Linked DNA regions of Homo sapiens: region 2 is linked to region 1. Evidence: promoter capture Hi-C in 16 types of primary human blood cells and fetal thymus (Javierre and others, 2016). All regions are on one chromosome and are shown on one strand. The core of a region is centred on a gene start or on the middle of the fragment in contact, and the rest is flanking DNA. Distances in the headings are between cores, read along the strand shown. Region 1 holds the start of ERCC6L2 (ERCC excision repair 6 like 2). Region 2 holds the start of TDRD7 (tudor domain containing 7).

What was found. Contacts are between HindIII fragments. The CHiCAGO score rates a contact against its expected background, and 5 or more counts as called.
Region 2: a fragment that was not itself captured here is called in contact with the fragment with the promoter of ERCC6L2 in region 1 in 1 of 17 cell types (total B cells); the score reaches 7.7 in total B cells.

What each region holds. Positions count from the first base shown.
Region 1 is chr9:95,873,283-95,877,388 of GRCh38, forward strand. ERCC6L2 (ERCC excision repair 6 like 2) reads left to right here and starts at 2,409. Exons shown (of 19, transcript NM_020207.7): 1 at 2,409-2,802. The coding sequence starts at 2,757. ERCC6L2-AS1 (ERCC6L2 antisense RNA 1) reads right to left here and starts at 2,695. Exons shown (of 3, transcript NR_023390.1): 1 at 2,583-2,695. RefSeq lists enhancers at 1,580-1,709, 1,940-1,989, 2,030-2,129, 2,264-3,138, 2,270-2,499 and 1 more. The HindIII fragment of the contact is 4,005 bases long and covers 295-4,106 here.
Region 2 is chr9:97,412,016-97,416,121 of GRCh38, forward strand. TDRD7 (tudor domain containing 7) reads left to right here and starts at 81. Exons shown (of 17, transcript NM_014290.3): 1 at 81-223. RefSeq lists silencers at 1-117, 138-347, 432-726 and enhancers at 62-563, 564-1,063, 668-927. The HindIII fragment of the contact is 157 bases long and covers 2,179-2,335 here.

The DNA.
Region 1 (4,106 bases), core at 1,159-3,658:
CCTGGGCGACAGAGCGAGACTCCGTCTCAAAAAAAAAAAAAAAAAAAAGAAAATGAGGTATCCTCCTCTTTTGTTAGTCACAAGGGTATTCCTTCAACCAGATGATACCTCCCATTTAAATCAAAATTTATTTCTGAATTTGCTTATCACTTCTATTAAGAGGTCTGCTCTGTCAAGAGCTACATCTTAACTCAATGGACCTCTGGAAAAATAAGACAAAATTACACAACTAGTCATTTCAGAGAGGGGAAAAAAATCAAACTTCTTCCCTGGTAGTTGTAGGGGAAAAAAAGAAGCTTGATTAAAATTTCAATTTGCCATTTTGATTTTAGAGACAATGTGAAAAGAGATATAATCCATCAATAACAAGCAGCAGATTTTTCTAGATTTTAAGATTTCCAATATCAGGGTGCATGTCAGAATCAAGAATTACAATTATAATTAGTAGTGTTTTTCGCTGTGTCGCCAGATTAGAGTGCGGTGGCGCAAACTCGGCTCACTGCAACCTCTATAGACCTCCCGGGTTCAAGCGATTCTCCTGCCTCAGCCTCCTGAGTAGCTGGGACTACAGGCATGTGCCACTACGCCCAGCTAATTTTTGTATTTTTATTAGAGACGGGGTTTCACCATATTGGCCAGGATGGTCTTGATCTCTTGACCTCATGATCCGCTCACCTTGGCCTCCCAGAGTGCTGGGATTACAGGCATGAGCCAACCGCGCCCGGCCTATTAGCCAAAATATTAAACTGACATAATGGCTATGTAGAATGCAACTTTCAAGTGGATGCATTCCATTGATAATAATAGTAATAACAACACATATATTCCTTACTATGACCAGCTACTGTTTTAGGAGTTTTACTTAATTATCTAATTTTTTACAATTACCATTTTTAGGTAGTTTACTATTATTAGCTTCACTGTAATGGTGATAGGTGAGTACAATAAAACACGGAGAAGTGATCTGGCCAACAACTCACACATAGATGGCTGAGTTAGATGTTTCACTTAGGCTTAAAGTTATTGCCTGCTGGTAAGCAAACAAGTCATATTTTAAATGAAGCATTTTATGAACACATACTACTAGTTTTTAGTATCTGCCATAGAATTGAGATCTATTTGCAAACAGCCATATTGTTTTCTTAAGACACTACTGTAGGCAGAATAATGATCCCCCAAAGATGTTTATCTCCTAATTTCCGGAATTCGTGAATATATTAGCTTACATGGCAAAAGGATTCTGCTGATGTGATCAAGGGCAGAGACCTGGAAATGGGAAGATGATCCTGGATTACTCAGGTGAGCCCTCAGAATCTTTTCCAGCTGCAATCAGCGGTAGACTTGAGGATGGAAGGTTCAGAGAGATGGCATATCACTGGCTTTGAAGATGGAGGAAGGGACCAAAGCCAAGGAATGTGGACAGAAGCTGGCAAAGGCAAGCTAAGGATTGTCCTGTGGAGTCACCAGAAAGGAGTGCAGCCCGGGTGACACCCAGGTAGCACTTCTGATCTACAGAACCGTGAGATAATAAATGCATTGTCTGTCAGATGATAAATTTGTGCTGTTTCAAGCTACAAAGTTTGTGGTTTTTGGTTATTGTGGCAATAGGGAACGGATACAGGCCCTGTCAGGTATTTCACTCAATCCATGAAATACCTTACAGTATACAAATTTTAACATGCGCGGGAGCCACTTACGGATCCGTCTATCTGTGCTGCCTGGGAGTGTCAAGAGGCCGTGTCCTTCATTCACCTCGCGCGTGGGCGGCGCTGCCCTGAAGATGCTCCCGGGCTCAGTGCAGACGGCTCAGCGTTCTCTCGCGTTCAACGAACCGCCAGAAACGTCAGATGGTACGGAGGAAAACACTTTACACTTTAACAGTATTTTTACGTTTATTTGCAGCAAATGTTGTTGGCTTTGTATTTAAAGTATTTATGACTCACTATAAAGTGTAGGATCCAAGAAAACGCGCTAGTTTCACTTGGCCCCCGTGGCTGTCCCGGGGAGCTCTCCAAGGAAGGACTGGTTCCTGAAGTTCCTGGGGTGCTGCACCACCACGGAAGAACCAAGCTCCACAGAGAAGCCAGAAGCCGCGACCGCGGGGACGCTCTCTGCCAGGCCTCCACCGCCTCAGCGGCCCTTTACAGCCACCGCATTCTCCATGCCCCCAGTTATTTCTAGCTTCGCACAGCGCCCGGCCCACCGAGCGACCTCAAACCTCGCGACACTCGCAACTCCCGAGGCCCTTCCTGCTACTGGCCTCAGAGGGAAGAGACATCGGGAAGATTGCTCCGCCCACAGAAAGGAAGATTTCGTTCTCGCGAGATCCCAATGACAATTCGGGAGCCCGTTCTCGCGGGATTTTCCAAGACCGGGTTGGAATTTGCGGGGGTTAGGAGACGGAAGTCAGAGCCTAGGAAGATTTGGGGGTCGCCTTGCCGGCCTCCTGTCCTCCTCCGGCGGCGGCGGAGCCCGAGAGAACTAGGTGAACACCGCTTTGCCAGCCTCACACAGCGTCCCCTGGCTCTGCCGCCGCTCCGGACGTCGCCCTCCCGTTCTGCTTGGGTCCCCTTAGTCGCTACCTTTGCTGGGATCCCCCTCCTCCATCCTGTGGCTTCGGGTTGCCGAAGAGCGATGCTCGGAGGGCGGCCGGAAGTGGCGTTGGCCGCCATTGGCCTGCCGGCCAGCCACCTTGCTGTCCTCCGCCGCCTTCCGGGTGTTACATGCAGCCGGGCTCGGCCCCTCCCCCTGGCCGGATGGATCCGTCGGCGCCACAGCCCCGCGCGGAAACCTCAGGCAAAGGTACCAGCTCCGCGCTCGCCCCTTACGCAGAGGCCTGTGTACTGCGTCGCGTTGGACCAGTTCTTGCCGGTGCCCTTCGGGTTGGGGTTTTGCCCTGTAGATCCTCTTCAGTGACAGCTGCAGATTGTGAACCCCTCCAGGCCTGGAACCAAATCTCCGATTCAGTGTTGAGAACCTGGACTCGGGAGTCAGCCCCTGGGATCTAGTGCTGCCTCTGACAGTTACTTGCTGAGCAACTTTGGGCAGGCTCCTCATCTGTAAAACTGGGTTCATTACTAGGTTCTTGCGATTATTAAATGACGTGGGGAATACGCAAAGTATTTATGTGACCCCGCGTGTGGCCCATATTAAGCACTCAGTAAATGTTATTTTCATTCTTTATTCTTGTATGCCCCAGTTGTTAGTGAATGGCAGAAGTTTGTTGTAAGTAGATAAATGAAGGTTGAGATATTTAGTTCAGTTGAGTTTTATTGCCTATTGAGTCAGGGCATTATATTCTGCCTTAAATAGGAGGTTTAAAGAAGGTGTGATTATCTACCACAAGTCACCTGGGATGCCTTCTGGCACCCAAATGAGTAGTTTTCATTAATAATTGTGCTGTATAACAAAAGCTACCAGGTATTGAGTGATTTTCCTGAGCCCAGCAATATGCTGATTGTTTACTTGCTTTCCTTTGAGGAAGATATCGATCTCATTAAATAGATGAATTCAGAGCTAAAGTTCAGAGAGGGCAAGTTACAAGCCTGAATTCTGAGGTCTAGGAATTGATGACGCTGTAATTCAGGGACCAAACATATAAATACCTATAGGAGACTGGCAGCTAAAAATAGATGAAGCTGCCGAGTGGATATTGTGACTGGGAGGCTCATTCCTTTTGATAAATCTAGTCACTCTTGGTATTTAGGGAAATTGGTGGAAGGAGCAGAAAGCTCCAGGGCCCCGAGGTGGGAACACCCTTGAGGAATGCTTGAGGAGGCCTTTGGAGTGAAAGAGGGAGAGAGAGACCCTATCACCAGAATGAGTTGAGTTGGTAATTAGTTTAAACCAAAACAAATGATTTCGACTCATTAAATTTTAGGACACTTAACCCATTTCCCTGTTAAATCCAACAGGAAATCTTAACAATTTAAGCAGTTGTTCTGTAGTTTGGATACTGAGAGATTCCATTTCTAACTCAACTGAATTTATTTCGTCCTAGAAATTATCCGAACTCAAACCCAAAATACTCCAATAAGTTGTGTGATTCCCTTAAGGCTTTTTTTTTTTTGCACATGCTGTACACTTATCTGAGATACAGTTCTTAG
Region 2 (4,106 bases), core at 1,007-3,506, 1.5 Mb after region 1:
GCGCAGAGCCGAGGCCAGGCTGCCCTCGAAGCGGGGCGGGGCGAAGCGGGGCGGGGCCGAGCAGGGCGGGGCGGGGGCTTGAGGTGATTCCCAAGCCGCGGGGCGGCTCCGGTGGTGCGGGGAAACCGAAAGTGGGCGGCGGCCGCGGCGGGGCCCCTGGCGGAGACGGCGGCAGGAGCTGGGCCCAGAGACGCGGGGACGGGCCGTGGGCCCCCGGAACGAGGTGAGTGCAGGTCCTGCGGGCTCCGGGCGCGACAGGTGCCGGGCGACGTCGGACGAGATTTCGGGCGGGCGCGGCGCACCTGGGTCACCGGTGGGACCGCGGCCAGGGCCGGGGGCTCCAACAGGCTCGGGGCCTTTTCCCTGCAGCCGCAGGGGATTGCCCCCGCCCCGACGCCTGGGAACCGGGCTGGGCGCCGGGGGAGTTGGAGTTCCAGAGCGTTGTGTTTTAAATCTCTGAAGGGACCCTGCTCCGGGCCGGGCGTTCACGCGGGAGTCGGACGGAGCCTCCTGCCGCCTCGGAAGCTCTGCGCCGTGGGGGAAATGCAGCAGCGGGGTGTGGACGCGGGCGGGAGATGCGGACCAGGAAGTGGTTCCCGCTACCGGCGCGACAGGCCGCAGCCGCCGCCCCCAGCGAGGGATGTCCGCGCTCCCCTATTTGAACCCAAGTATTTTACACCACGAACTTCTCTTGAAGGTCTCTATAATCTGGAGACGAGCCCCAGGCAGGCCGCTTAAGTAATGCAGGACACACATCCCCATTTCTCTCAAACGAGGAGCACCCAGTGGGTACAGAGCACCCAGCTGGGAGGGAAACATGGATCCGTGAGTAAGTTGTCTCTCAACTTTCAGTAGCATCCCCTCAGCAGGGTCAGACTCTCAGCTTCAGCTTGCTAGGAGGGAGCTTGGAGCCGGCATATCTTTCTGCTCCCATTCACTTGAGAGGTATATTTCCATTAATAGCTAAAGGTACCATTCTCAAATAATTTCTAAGAGCAGGGAAGGGAAACAACCACATTAGAACAAGTCCTGGCCCAGAAGAATTCTGATCACCGCCCATCCAAACCAAACCAAACCAAAAAACCACAGATCTAGTTCATTAACCCTCCTACCAACACCTCTCTGCTCTCCAATCGTGCCGGTGAAAAAAATGCAGAGAAATGTTCTCTCTAGAGAGATAGGCAACAGCTTAATAGCAGAAGTAAAACTTGGACCCAAATCCCTGTCTCGTCCTGGGCTGCCTTGATGTGTATGAATGTGTTGCATACTGCAAATAATGTGAACTTTGCAGACCTGGATTGAAATCTGGGCTTCTCATTTTACAAATTGTGTGATCTTGAACAAATTACATGCTTTCTCTTAGCCTGGTTTTCTATGTGTCAAATAGAGGTACCTGGCTTACTTTGCAAGGCTTTTCCAAGATAACCACTGTATATCCTTTGCCTCATAATAATTGCCAAGCAGTATTCACTCTCTTCCTCCCAACAAACGGTCCATGTTTTACATAATTGGATTTTAGTTTTTTGAGGGCAGGGACACAAAGATCTTTGTGTTTACTATATAATATAAATGGGCACATGGTGGATATTTTTGCATTTCCTCTCAGCTGACATTCATTGAGCATCAGTTACGTGCAAAGTACTGTTCTGGGTATAGGGAATTGCCCCTGGGGCCAGCTGGATTAGCACTCACATCTCCTGTGCCCCAATCCAGGGCCCTTTGGTGGCACACAGCCTCCGTCTTTGGTAGTTGCACGGTGAGACTGTGAGGCAGCAGTTGGCAGTGCCTTCAGATTTCAGTCTCTGTAGATTGAAAATGAAGTGTAATCCCCTGCTAATGCCCTTTTAAGTGTACAGGTTGAACATGGCTGAATGAACTATTGTATTGTGCATCAAGAGATTTTAAACTCCTTGCAGAACCCCTCTTTTAAGTTCTCTGTGCAATATAATCTAGCTGGATACTTAATGTGAATATAAAGAAAAAATATAATCCAACCCCGAGTGCCTAATTTGTGTTTGTCAAGTGCTGTTTTCAAGAATTGAGATTTGACATAGAGTGCTTTGCATCTGGACACTTTCACAGAAGTTCCTTGGTGAAATTTTATATTTACGTGAACTGTTGTTTCTTTGTGCCAAACCTGCTTTTTCCTCCCTCCACTCCCACCTCTGTACTTTTGAAAGCTTCATTCTTGTCATTATTTCCCTGTAAGCCAAATATGTTTACAGTTTTGTCTTTCAAACTAAAAGTAATTAATTTTGCAATTTTTAGTTGAAGACATGTATATATGCCAATCAGAACTTGATCAGTGCAAGCTACCCAGTGTGACTTCAAAGTAAGCTTGGCATTTTAGCCTGTGCAGCTTTGTCATGAGTAAGCAAACTCGGTTTTCATTACATATTTGGACCTTATTTCAGCCTTCAGTGAATCCAAGGAAAGTTGAGAATCATGGCTCTTGCCCACCTTTCTTATCTTCCTTGTGAAAAAAAGAGACCTGAAGTGACTTGTCACAGGTAATCAGTAGCGGAACTAGGATTAAGACACAAACTCCTTACTAAGCCACTTTATTATCTCAGGGTTTTTTCGTCTAGTATGTAGACTTATGGAAATCCCTTACTTACGTACATTCGTGGTATGCAGTTAAAATGCACGAATAATTTGGAACTTGAGATCACAAGAATAAAAAAGATAACTCCCTGAAAAAAACTCTTAAGGAAGTATACCATCATCTGAGGGTATTAATCATCTTTTTCCTTTAAAAACCGGTTGGTGAAGGAGTAATTGAAGTGGTAACAGACTATGATTAGAAAGAAAAGAGCATTTAAAAGTGTCGCAAGGTGAGAAATCATTTATTGGGTAAAGATCTTAGGAAAAAATTTTCCCTCTGAGGCTCAGTTTATTGATTTGTAAGATAAGGAGCTTGGGTTAGCCTAGACGATGCCTAAAATGTGTCAGCACAGACATTATGGGACTTTAAGTTCCCGCTGTTGCTAAAATAGTGTCTTCAAGGAGAAGGGCAGTTAGTTATTAGAAGTATATGCCCTAAAGAGATATCCAGATACTTCAAAATTGAACATCTAACTAAAAGAAGCTAAGAGAGATTACTTGGTGTTTTCAGTTTACCCTAATAATTCTTCTGATTTGTTTTAAGATTTAGTGCCACTCGACAACTTAAACTGATGACATGAAAAATGTAGTAAGGAAGATGAGCCAAATCATACAGTTGGAAATAGTTGAGCAAGAAGAAACTTAGAAAAGAGAAGGCATAGGATGGAAGCCAGACTAGCTCAGCTAAAGGCCTTTGACACCAGTAGTTAGAGGAAGCAGATAACATGCAAATGACTGAGCCAGGGAGGATCAATCAATGGTAGAAGGCGTTTATCTGGGATACACCAAAACCAGGTTCTTCAGAATAGGACTTCCTTGGGCCATTTTCAGGTATAGTAAAGAGAAAAGCTGTGAATTTACAAAATGCAGTTTTGAAGTAGAGTGAGAATTATTTTAGGCCACTTAAATTATTTAAATTTTGTTTCCCTAAAGATTGTCATCACTCCCCAACTCCCCACCCCACCTCATGTGCATTATTAGTGTCTTGGATAATTAAGATTAACTGGGTATAAGCGAAGAAAAAAAGGAAAGCACGAAAGCATAAAAAAGATAGTCTCAGCTACTCAGGAGGCTGAGGCGGGAGAATCACTTGAACCCGGCAGGCGGAGGTTGCAGTGAGCCAAGATTGCGCCACTGCACTCCAGTTGAAATTCCTATGATATACTTTCTTTTATGCTTCTAATGGATGATGTCTAAGATATTAAACTTTATTTTTATAGTTAGAACAAAGTATTCTTATATACCTTGAGAGTATAATTGCCATCTTCCGAAAGTTTCAAAAAAAAGTCATCATGAGCCACGTAACAAAACTCAGAGCATTTCCAAAGTGATATAGTTTAGAAAATAATGACGATTTTTTTTAAAGCTTACACTTTCTTTTTCGTTCACTGCCTGAAGTGATGTTGCTAATGTGGGAATTGAAATCAGACTGGCAAGTCGTGCATTTGAATACAATCACATTTAGCCTTCCAGGTTTTACTGCATTTAACTGCTTCTCACCA